Regions from separate parts of the Homo sapiens genome. Here region 2 is linked to region 1. Evidence: promoter capture Hi-C in 16 types of primary human blood cells and fetal thymus (Javierre and others, 2016). All regions are on one chromosome and are shown on one strand. Each heading gives the region's core, a stretch centred on a gene start or on the middle of the fragment in contact. The rest is flanking DNA. Distances are from core to core; before and after follow the strand shown.

Region 1 (5,788 bases), core at 2,974-5,473:
GCCACCCAGATGCCCACCCATAGGCGGAAGGGCAGGTAGTCCAGGCTGTAATCTCTGTGGGGATGAGAGACAGGAAGGCTGGCTTAGCAGGGCTGTCTGCTTCCCACTAAACCCAGGTCAGGTGTCCCTCAACCCAAACAGATAGCTCCCACTCTCTCCTATTCACCCAGCCAGGAGCAGGCTGACCATGGCACTAGTGAGGGTCCGGTGATGGGGGGAGCTCTCCTACCTGCTGAAAGAGAAGAGCAGGCGCTCAAAGACCAGCACTGGCCCCGTGCTGCTCAGAATGGTGAGGGGCTGGCCTGCCATCAGGCAGAAGGCAGCTCCAGCCACTGCTGTGCCCAGGAAACTTTCCAGCACTCCCTGGAAGCCAACAGGGGCTCAGCACAGGACCCTGAAGTCCTCGGGGTCCTTTGAAGCTTTGGGAGAGCCTCCTTAACTTACCCATAGTCCCAGGGGAAGGGATGGACTAGGGGACACCAACGCTTGTGCCTGCCCCCTGGGCCCTACCCACCTGGGCACCATCAGTGGCATCTCCCAGCAGACCCCCAAAAGTGATGGCATTAGTGACAGTGGCCAGGTAAATGTAGAGTACGGCCGAGAAGCACTGGAGATGCAGGGCGTCCAAGAAATCGCTGGGGTACCACGGGACCTTCCTGCGCACGTCCTGGATAAGGCCCCCAAACAGCCTCCCGCCCGAGGGTCGTCAGTGATCCAGGTTTTCACACTCCACACCCGCATCCCCGCTACTTTCCCTGTGACCGGGTGAGCCCCTCCCACAGTGAGCACACACCTCAGTTTCCCTGTGACTCCTCCCCTCCCCCAGGTCACCTACCCTTGTTTCCTCCCAGCTCGCCTCACCTGCCGGTCCGCTGCAACTCCGGGCTGTGTGCGTGTGGCCCATGGCGGTGCCTGTCCTCAGCCGAGGTCAGGCGCGGGACGGCGGGACCTCTGATCTCCCGCTGTTGCGAGGGAAGCCTGAGGAGGAGGGGAACCCCAGGTTGGCTGAGGATCTCCAACCAGTCTGCGACTCGGTCCAGAGCTCGTGGCGCCCTGCCCCCTAGCGGCTGCTCTTGTCTCTGCCGGCGAGGGAACCATGGCGACACCTGGGCCTCTAGAAGGTCCAGGTCATATTGCGACCTGTGAAAGCCAGGCTCGGGCAGGGAAGGTCTTTGTTCAGGTCTCTTAGCGAGAGAGTAGTCCAGCAGAACTCAGAGTTAGGTCTGCCTGACTCCAAATCCAAAGATAGGTCCCTATCTCTTTCCTGGGACACCACCCCTCCTCAACAATGGAATTAGACCCAGGGCCTATATGGGCAGGAATCTGTATGGGATGATGGCTCCCAGGTACCTTTTGTGCTGAGATGGCAGACATTTGGGCGGGGGAATCCGGGCTGTTGGGTCCCACCGACCTGGGGGAAGCACTGTCACCTCCTCTAGGAATGCATCCAGGGCTGCCAGAAGGTCATGAAGGTTGCTGGCCCGACGAACTGACCACTGGAATTGCTGGGAATGGGGGCACAGAATGGGTGGTAAGTGCAAACCTGGTCTCTTACATGCATTTTCATAGTCTCAAAACTAGACAGACACAAGTCACAGAGGCAGACAAGTCATTCACACATTCCTTTATGCATGCATTAATTCATTCATTCAGTGGGTATCTATTGAGTGCCTACAGTGTGCCAGCACTCATCCAGTAATGGGGCTGCACTAGGAGACGAGGAAACTTCAGTCTCAGTGCTCACTGTGCCTCATTGCTGTATTTAGGGACACATACAGAGTCCACACACACACACTCACATGAGCCCATGCATGTATGCATGTGTGCACACACACACAGGCATGCACGCGTGCGCGCGCACACACACACACCTGCTCAGCTCACCGGGTCACTGAGGAGGACAGCTGCTGCCCGTCCCATCTCATGGTAGCCCTTTCCCAGCATACAGGGGCCCAGGAGAAGGCAGAAAAACCTGAGGAAGGAACCAGGCCCCAGAGATTCACAGGCTGCTTTCCCACAGGGCAGCCCTGGCCTCTGATGCTCAGCTCTGACCTATCAGCTCCCATAAACACACTCATTTGCACACCTACCATGCAGCCCTGACCACTACTCTCTCCCCAGACCCCTGAGCACCATCCTCCCCACAGCCTCAGAGAATCAGACTGAGACCCTCCTTCCCCTCCTCAGTAAAGACCCTTCTAGGTTCTGGGATCCCTGACTCCCACTCACTCAGTAGCCTCACCTGCTTGGGAGGGACACCTCAGTAAGGGACCCCAGTACCACAGGGTTCCGCAGTCGAACAAAGGCTCCCAGTGGCTGTGCCAGGAAGCCCAGCTCCCCTGCCAGCACAGTCCCTGCCTCAGCTCCTGGAGGTAGCTTCTGTCTCAGGGGGTTCTGACACTGGATGGGGGTTCAAGGAGACACAGAATATGAAAGGTTATTTGGGGAGGATAAGATCTCAAATGATGAGAAATCCAGTGGAGAGTAGACTTTTGTTAATTTCTAACCCCTCTCCCAGCCACTGGAAAGGGACCCCAAGGAAGGGCCACAAACCTGTTCCCTCAGGGGGGCTTCCTCATTGTCAGAAGCCTTTCTTGGATGAGTAGAGCCTACAAAACAGGATTATGCAGTGATTAAGACCACAGGCTTTGGGGGTGGATCCACCAGGATTCCCTAATCACTTTTGCCACTGACAAGCTGTAAGAATTAGAGTATACCCTTCTCCACTCTGAGCCACAGTTTTCTCACCACTAAAATGGGGATAATTGTGGTACTATTTACAGGGTGGTTGTGAAGATCAAATGAGATACTGTGAAGATCAAATGGTAGGCCTAGTGCCTACCAAGTACATGTCTTCACAGAACTCTCTTACGATTCTAGCCCCCTGAATCTTCTCCCCACAACATTACCACCAGTTTCCTCTTGCTCATGAGTCCTGGGTTGGAGCCTGAACTAAGCCTGGGCTACTTCTAGCCCTGGAAGGTGCAGGGGAGATCTGAGACCCTGCCACACCAGGGTCTTGGTCCTGGGCCCAGGGAGGGGCTCTCACCCCAGCAGGGCCTGGTGCCTGTGGTCTGGTTGTAATGCTGGGGTCTCTGCAGCAGCAAGGCCTGCAACTGCCCTCTCAGCTCTGGGCTCAGCGACTCCACCCTGGTCACCTGCTCTGGAGAATGGATTGGGGGTCATCTCCTTCCTGAGAGTTCCCTGCCGCACACTCTTCCCCTTCTCCCTCTGCCCAGACACCTTTCCCTTCTGGGAGTCTCAGAATGCCAGGGCCAATGAACTTGCTCCTCCACCCTGCTTTTCCATGTCCACCCTGTGACAAGGGTAGACAATCCTAGGAGGGGTAGGGATGGGCTCTGGAAGATTTCAAGACTTTGGAGGGGAAATCCTGGGGAAAAGGCATGGCTACCCAGGCCCTTCCTGCAAAGGATCCCAGCCTACCCACGAGCTCCAGGAGGCTCTGAGCTGGGCAGTCCAGCAGTACAAGGCCCTCGGCCAGCAGGCTGCGGAGCTTCTGGAGGCTGGGCAGTGCCAGGGTGGGCACGTGGGGGGCACTCCACCGGCCTGCAGCCACCTCCAACTTCTCCTCAAACAGTACCCACCTGTGATGAAGGTGGGTAGACAGTGTTATTGAGGGCATTTCTCCCATGTCCAGGAGCAGAGATGCAGAGGAGCTAGGGAAGGCAAGGCAATGAGGGCATCCTGGGCCCAGTGGTGTGAAGTCTCCCCCCCACCCTGGCAGTCACCCCTCATCTAGGGTCTTGGGGATCTCAAAACTAGACTGCAGAGGAGGCTGGGCATCATGGAAGGTAAGACCCTGAAATAAGGGAACACAGCTGGGAAAATCCTAATTTTGGGCAGCCCCATAAGAAGCGCTGGGGGACATATAGGAGGCTCCAGCTGGGGAAGGGGAAGGATCCCACAGAACTGGCCTGCATCCAACTTACCTGCCTGTCTCTCTCCACTCCAGCGCCTGGGGCCAGCCCAGCAGCTCATTCAGCTGAATGAAGAGCAGAGGGTCTTTGGGTACTCCCAGTTCCTTGCTCTCTGTGTCTGAGGGGCCATCAGGGCTGGGGCCGGTGCCAGGGTCAGGGTTGCTGTCCAGCTCCCCTGAAGGAATATTTCTAGGAGCACTGGAGGCTTCAAACCCTTCCTGGCCTGGCAGCTTCATTTCCATGAGGCTTGCACAGAATCTCAGAACCAGTACAGTCCTAGGTTCTGAAGCCAGGGGCCCTCTGGCTGGTTGCATTTATAATGCATCCCCCACTGCAGCACAACACAAACAGAACAAGGCCTGCTGACTCCAGACTCTACCGGTCACCTACTCCCCTACTTGCTTACCCCACCCCCTGCTGGCATAAGAGTATTTGTAAGACTAGTCTGGCCTTTCCCAGGCTCTCCAGAAATGCCCAACCTGGGGCCAAAATGTGTATGTGCATTTCCTGTGGTATCAGGTCTGATCCCACTGTGTTTTGTGTAAAGAAACAGGAGTAAATGATTGGCTTGGGTCTGAGGACTTGGTACCCCCAGATTTTGCTGCCCCCCTCACTTGTATCAAATATAAATACCAAACACCCAGGACTGTTTTGGGTGTCACCAACACACCCCTGGGGCCACAGACACACCTATTTGGACAAACAGGGACCTAATAAATAATTGAGTCCATGGAAGCCAGACAGGGTAAGGGAGATAGCAGGCAGAGGACCTGCCCATTAAATGGGATAATGGTGGAAGACCTAGTGTCTGAGTCTTAAATTCTTTTCTTTTCTTTTTTTTTGAGACAGGGTCTCACTCTCTCACCCAGTCTGGAGTGTAGTGGCACAGTTATAGCTCACTGCACCTTTGACCTCCTAGCTCAAGTGATCCTCCCACCTCAGCCTCCAAGGTAGTTGGGACTACAGGTGCACGCCACCATGCCCAGCTAAGTCTTTTATTTTATTTTATTTTATTTTTGAGACGGAGTCTCGCTCTGTCGCCCAGGCTGGAGTGCAGTGGTGTGATCTCAGCTCACTGCAACCTTCACCTCTTGGGTTCAAGTGATTCTCCTGCCTCAGCCTCCCAAGTAGCTGAGATTACAGACATGTGCCACCAGGCCTGGCTGATTTTTATATTTTTAGTAGAGACAGGGTTTCACCATGTTGGCCAGGCTGGTCTCAAAAACTCCTGACCTCAGGTGATCCATCCGCCTCAGCCTCCCAAAGTGCTAGGATTACAAGCGTAAGCCACTGTGCCTGGCTGCCCAGCTAACGAGTCTTAAATTCTTTTGTCCAACAACACTTAGGAATTCCCTAATTTAGCTGTGTCCCTGGGATCTGCCCTGTGAGGATGGAGGAGCCCACTAGGGGGTGTAAGTGAAGGAGTTCCTGGAGCTAAATGAGCAAAGGAAAATGTGGTCCATTATTTGCAAATCCTGTTGACTCTATCTTCAAAATATACCCATAATCCAACCACATCTCCCCACCTCCAGCACTGCTACCCTGATTCAAACAACCATCATTTCTCACCTGAATTATTTCAGTAGCTTCCTGGTCTCTTGTAATAACCCCCCTGCTTCCACTCTTCCTCCCTTGCCCAAAGTCCATCCTCCACACCATACATGTCCTTTCAAAAGGCAGTTGAGCCACATTACTCTTCGGTTCAATACTCACCCAACACACTCCCATTACTCCTAGAAGAAGAAGAAAAAAAAATCAAGCTCCTTGTCGTGGCCTGCAAGATTCACACCCTGGCCCCAACCCACCTCTCTGACGGCATCTCACACCAGCCTCCCCTCGCTCACTCCTTT
Region 2 (5,644 bases), core at 826-3,325, 370 kb before region 1:
CACTGCTGGTAGATGTGTAAGCTGGTAGAAATACTTTGGAAAACCACTGGGCAAAACTATAGAACTGAAGACATGAATCCACTAAATACTTAGCAGTTTGACTCCTAGGTATGTACCCTGGAGAAATATATGCTGAAGTGCCGCAGGACATATGTATAAGATGGGAATATCTGTTTTTTCTGGGTTTCAGTTATTATGAACAATGAACCAAAACTAGAAATGCTACAAATATCCATCAATATTAAAATGAATAAGTAAATCATCTTATATTCATTAAATGGAATAGTAACCCACAACATAAACAAAATGGATAAATCTTACAAATGTATTATTGAACAAAAGAAGCAAAACAAAACAAACACTTCAATATAACTATATTTATGAAAGTAATCAAAATAGGAAAACTAAATTATAGCACCCAGGCATTCATACATAAGTGGTAAAGATATAAAGAAGAGTGAGAAAATTATTATTATAAAAATCAGGTAAATGGAGGGGGCGGGCACAGTGGCTCACGCCTGTAATTCCAGCACTTTGGGAAGCCGAGGTGGGCGGATCACTTGAGGTCAGGAGTTCGAGACAAGCCTGGCCAAAATATTGAAACGCTGTCTCTACTAAAAACACAAAAATTAGCTGGGCATGGTGGCACATGCCTGTAATCCTAGCTACTCAGGAGGCTGAGAGAGGAGAATCACTTGAGCCCAGGAGGCAGAGCTTGCAGTGAGCTGAGATACCCCCACTGCACTCTTGCCTGGGTGAAAGAGCAAGACTCTGTCTCAAAAATAATAATAATAGTAATAGAAATATTAATAAATAAATAAAAATCAGGTAAACAGGGCTGGGCACAATGGTGCATGCCTACAGTCTCAGCACTGGAGAGGTTGAAGCAAAAGGATCACTTGAGCCCAGGAATTCAAGGCTGTTGCCACTATGATTATACCTGTGAATGGCTACTATACTGCAGCCTGGGCAACATAGCAAGACCATCTTCTCTAAATACAATAAAAATAAATAAGATAAACAATCAGGTGAATGGTTAATTCCAAAAGAAAGTGAAGGGATTGTAAAAATCAAAAGAGAGAGAGGGTTTCTGGGATGTTGGCAATGTTTTCTTACCTTAGTAGTGATTATATGGATTCATTTTATAAGCATTTATTTAAATCTATGTATTTACCTCATGAATTTTCTGCATGTATGTTATATCTCACAGTTTAAAAATGTTTAATTAGTGAACAGTAGAAAATTGATACAGTCATCATAAGCATACATGCATCTACAATACAGTCTTGAACTACATCAAATAGGAAAAAATACATAAATCACCAATTGTAGTTGGAAATGTTTTAATATGCATCTCTAAGGACTGTAGATCACATAGACCTGAAAATAGTATGGATATGAATGAGCTGAAAAGAAAAACAATTTTAAAAATATGTAGACCCAAAATAAACAGGCATTATTTTTGAATATATATATAACACTTACAACAATAGACCATGTGTTAGGCTATAAATTCCACAGATCTGATCCCATTCAGACAATGTTCTCCTATTACAATGCATCCTGGAATTAACATTTGTAAAAACAATAGCTAAAATAAAATCCCATGTGTTTGGAAACTAAATAACATATTACTAAATAAGATTCTGCTTAAAAAATACTTAGAAGTGAATGAAACACTACATGAAGAATTTGTGTACTACAACTAAAGCAGTACTTAAAGGTAAACTTGCAGTTTTAAATACACTAATGATTAAGAAAGATTAAAATCAAATGAGCTGCCACAGGAGATACAACCTCACACCCTTCAGGATAGCTGCTATCAATCACACACACACACACACACACACACACAGAGAGAGAGAGAATAAGTGTTAGTGAAGACATGGAGAAATTGAAGCATTTCTGCACTATTGGTGGGAATGTAAAGTGATACAGCTGCTATGGAAAACAGTACAGCAGTCACTTAAATAATTAAAAGTACAATTACCATATAACCCAGCAATTCCACTTCTGGGTATATACCCAAAGGAATTGAAAGCAGAAACACAAACAGATATTTGTACACTCATGTTCATAGCAGCATTGTTCATAATAGGCAAGAGGTCAAAACAACCCAAATGTCCATTGATGGACAATGACTAAACAAAACATTCCATTTTAATAGTATTCCATTGTAGTATTCACATACAATAAAATATTATTTATCCTTTTTCAAAAGGAATGAAATTGTAGTACATGATACAACGTGGATGAACCTTAAGAACATTGTGCTGGCTGGGTGCGGTGGCTCATGCCTGTAATCCCAGGAGAATCATGGGGTCAGGAGATCGACACCATCCTGGCTAACAGAGTGAAACCCAGTCTCTAGTAAAGTTACAAAAAATTAGCAGGACATGGTGGCAGGAGGCTGAAGTCCCAGCTACTTGGGAGGCTCAGGCAGGAGAATCGCTTGAACCCAGGAGGTGGAGGTTGCAGTAAGCCGAGATTGTGCCACTGCACTCCAGCCTGGGTGACTGAGCCAGACTCCATCTCAAAACAAAACAAAACAAAACAAAATAAAACATAGTGCTAAGTGAAATAAACGAGTCACAAAAAGACAACTACTGTATGATTCCACTTCTATGAGATACCTAGAGTAGTCAAATTTATAGAGACGGAAAGCAGAATGGCAGTTGCCAGGGATTAGGGATAGAGGGAGGTGGAGAGTTATTAGTTAATGGGTATAGAGTTTCAGTTTTGAAAGATGAAGAGTTCTGGAGATGGATAGTGGTGATGGTTGCAAAACGGTGTGAATGTACCTACCACCACTGAGCTGAACATTTTAAAATGGTTCATATGCCAAATTTTATATTCTGTGTAGTTTACCACAATTAAAATTTTTTATGGAAAACAAAAACAAATGTTCTGGCTTCCAGATTCCTATAGAACAACACCAGTTACCTAAATTTGAATCTCTCCACACATCCTATAAACAAACAAAACTAAGGAGAACGAATAAAACCATCCATGGCTACAATATAATTTACAGACAGAGAAAATTATAAACCCCATTTTATATAAAAGCAGGTATATACATCCAAAACCAGCAGATCCAGTTACAGAGCCATGCTCTAGAAGAGAAGCCAAGATGGCACAGAAAGGCTAAACCACCACCAGAAAAAGAGAGTCCCATCTTGAGTGGAGAAATACTGACAATACGTCCGAGATCTGGTAGATGAAAGAACTGAGACAGATTTTAAAAGGGGGTGAAATTGTTTGAGACTGGCAATGGCAATGTTGCAAAGGCAAGAGGAAAGGCAGGAAGAAAGAGGCGACTTGAAGGGGAGGTACCCCTTCAGGGCTTGATGGTGAAGAAAAACGAAGCAAGCAATGAGTAAGAGTCCCAGGCTGGGCGCAGTCGCTGACTCCTATAAACCCAACACTATGGGAGGCCGAGGTGGGCAGATCTCTTGAGCTCAGGAACTCGAGACCAGCCTGGGCAACATGGTGAGACCCCCATCTCTACAAAAATAAAATAAAATAAAATACTAAATTTAGCCAGGCGAGGTAGTGCGCACCTGTGGTCCCAGCTACTCGGGAGGAGGCTGAGGCAGGAGGATCGCTTGAGCCCAGGAGGCAGAGGTTGCTGTGAGCAGAGATGGAGCCGCTGCACTCCAGCCTGGGAGACAGAGACAGGCTGTGTCTCGAAAAGAAAAAGAAAAAGAAAGTTAAGAGTCCCACAGAAATGAAACAGAATCACAAAATCAGAAGACATCAGCCAGTGCGCCACTCTAAAAAAAGAGGGCACTCTTGAACTAAGAAAGCTGGTAAGGCACCCAACCTCCTGCCTCATTTGCAGTTGCTGAAACTGGAAAATAAAATATTACAAAATGCACAGAAAATTGCAGACATATTATATAGAAAAAATTTAAGTGAAAATCTATATTTTCTAAAAAAAAAAAACTCAACATGATACCAGAAACCTGAAACATAATATTCCAGCCAAAATTAAATAACCTTAAACAATAATTTGGTAACATGAAAAAAAATGCCATGAATCAGAAAAATAACTCAGAACAGAAATGGACAAAGAACGAAATAACTAAGAAAACAGTTTGTTAAAAAAAAAAAAGCAGGAGAAATAGAAGAATAAAAAAATCAGAAAAAAAAACTAAATTATAAGATGTTCGAAGAGGAAGAGCTTTTACTTAAAATATAATAACTGGTATTGAGGAAAGGTATTAACACAGCCAATAAAATAAAAATAAAATCAAAAGAAAGCAATTCAGCCGGGTGCAGTGGCTCACGCCTGTAATCCCAGCACTTCGGGAGGCCGAGGCGGGTGGATCACAAGGTCAGGAGTTCGAGACCAGCTTGGCCATTATGGTGAAACCCTGTCTTTACTAAAAATACAAAAATTAGCCAGGTATGGTGGCATGTGCCTGTAGTCCCAGCTACTCAGGAGGCTGAGGCAGGAGAATCGCTTGAAAAAAGGAGATGGAAGTTGCAGTGAGCGGAGATCGCACCATTGCACTCCATCCTGGGCAACAGAGTGAGATTCCATCTGAAAAAAAAAAAAGCCATTCAAAGGATCAGACAGAAAGTGGCGTTGGTGTAGAGGCAAAGATCCAACATACATTGCAGTCCCTGAAGAAGAATAAAACAATGGAACCGATGTAATCTTCAAAACTATAATAAAAGAAACTTGGGTCTACATATCGAAAGGAAACCTAGGAAAAATTATATGGAATGATCAAGTCTGAGGTATATCTTAGAGCATCCATTAGATTTGAAAGAAAAACTCCTGTGGGCCTCAGGCAAAAAGGACAAGAAGATACAAATATACAGGTAACTGTTAGAACAAACACGTGAACATTACTGAACACTGAAAAAACTTTAAAAGTTAAGAGTTTGGTTGTGTTTGGATTTTAAGCACTTCCTTGCTTTCTAGCACTACGAGGTGCTCCGTGTCCATTTCTATATTTCCTGCCCACTACTAAAATCAGCCATTTCTCCAAGAAACCCTGGATCCTTTTATTATGGAAAGTGAGCTGAACTTCAGCAGTAAGAGGGCTGGAGAGCGCCCGCGGGTCTCGAACAACCCAGAGAGGTGGTTTGATGACACGCGAAGTAACCGCTGAGCTAAAGCCAGCCCAGAGGTTGCTTTCGGATTGTATTTTCTTGACTGGTGAGAAAGACCTACGTCACAAAGAGTGAGTCAAAACAACGGTGCTTTAGCTTGACTCAGCGACCTGGACTGTCCAATCCGCCGCTATCTCCAGGCAATTGCAGAGTGTCCATCTGGGGACATACAGCAGTGACAAGTACTCAGCCTTCCTCTAACCCCTGGAGAGCTCTTCCGCGGTTGTGCCCCCGGTTTATTCTCTCCTCAGCAGTCACCTGGTCCACAACTCTCCACACGCCCCCACCTCCTTTGCCTCCAGCTTTTGCGCTCCCAAAACAACCACGCAGGGTCACTTTGTGATCAAATCGACTTTTACAAGTAGAGCTTGGGTCATAAGAGTGGAGTCTTTACAAGGTGTAAATTGTATTTCAGACCTTATCTTAGAACTTCGCTGCTAAACTAGATAAACCTTACATCCTCTCCCCAGGGGAAACTTCCTGCGGCGCTTTTTTTTTTTTTTTTTTTTGACAGAATACC

Evidence for each region. The method cuts DNA at HindIII sites, captures the fragments that hold promoters and counts their contacts. A CHiCAGO score of 5 or more calls a contact.
Region 2: a fragment that was not itself captured here is called in contact with the fragment with the promoter of SLC4A9 in region 1 in 2 of 17 cell types (naive CD8 T cells and naive CD4 T cells); the score reaches 6.2 in naive CD8 T cells.

What each region holds. Positions count from the first base shown.
Region 1 is chr5:140,358,629-140,364,416 of GRCh38, reverse strand. SLC4A9 (solute carrier family 4 member 9) reads right to left here and starts at 4,223. Exons shown (of 22, transcript NM_031467.3): 1 at 3,951-4,223; 2 at 3,445-3,605; 3 at 3,050-3,163; 4 at 2,554-2,609; 5 at 2,243-2,400; 6 at 1,885-1,972; 7 at 1,351-1,505; 8 at 862-978; 9 at 515-689; 10 at 230-363; 11 at 1-54. The coding sequence starts at 4,180. RefSeq lists enhancers at 797-1,342, 1,213-1,362. The HindIII fragment of the contact is 10,887 bases long and covers 422-5,788 here.
Region 2 is chr5:140,725,651-140,731,294 of GRCh38, reverse strand. The region is part of intron 1 of LOC105378198 (a long non-coding RNA gene); the gene reads right to left. It also overlaps VTRNA1-3. Among named protein-coding and RNA genes, the nearest start is that of ZMAT2, 28 kb to the right of the region's middle. RefSeq lists an enhancer at 5,057-5,351. The HindIII fragment of the contact is 9,674 bases long and covers 1-5,644 here.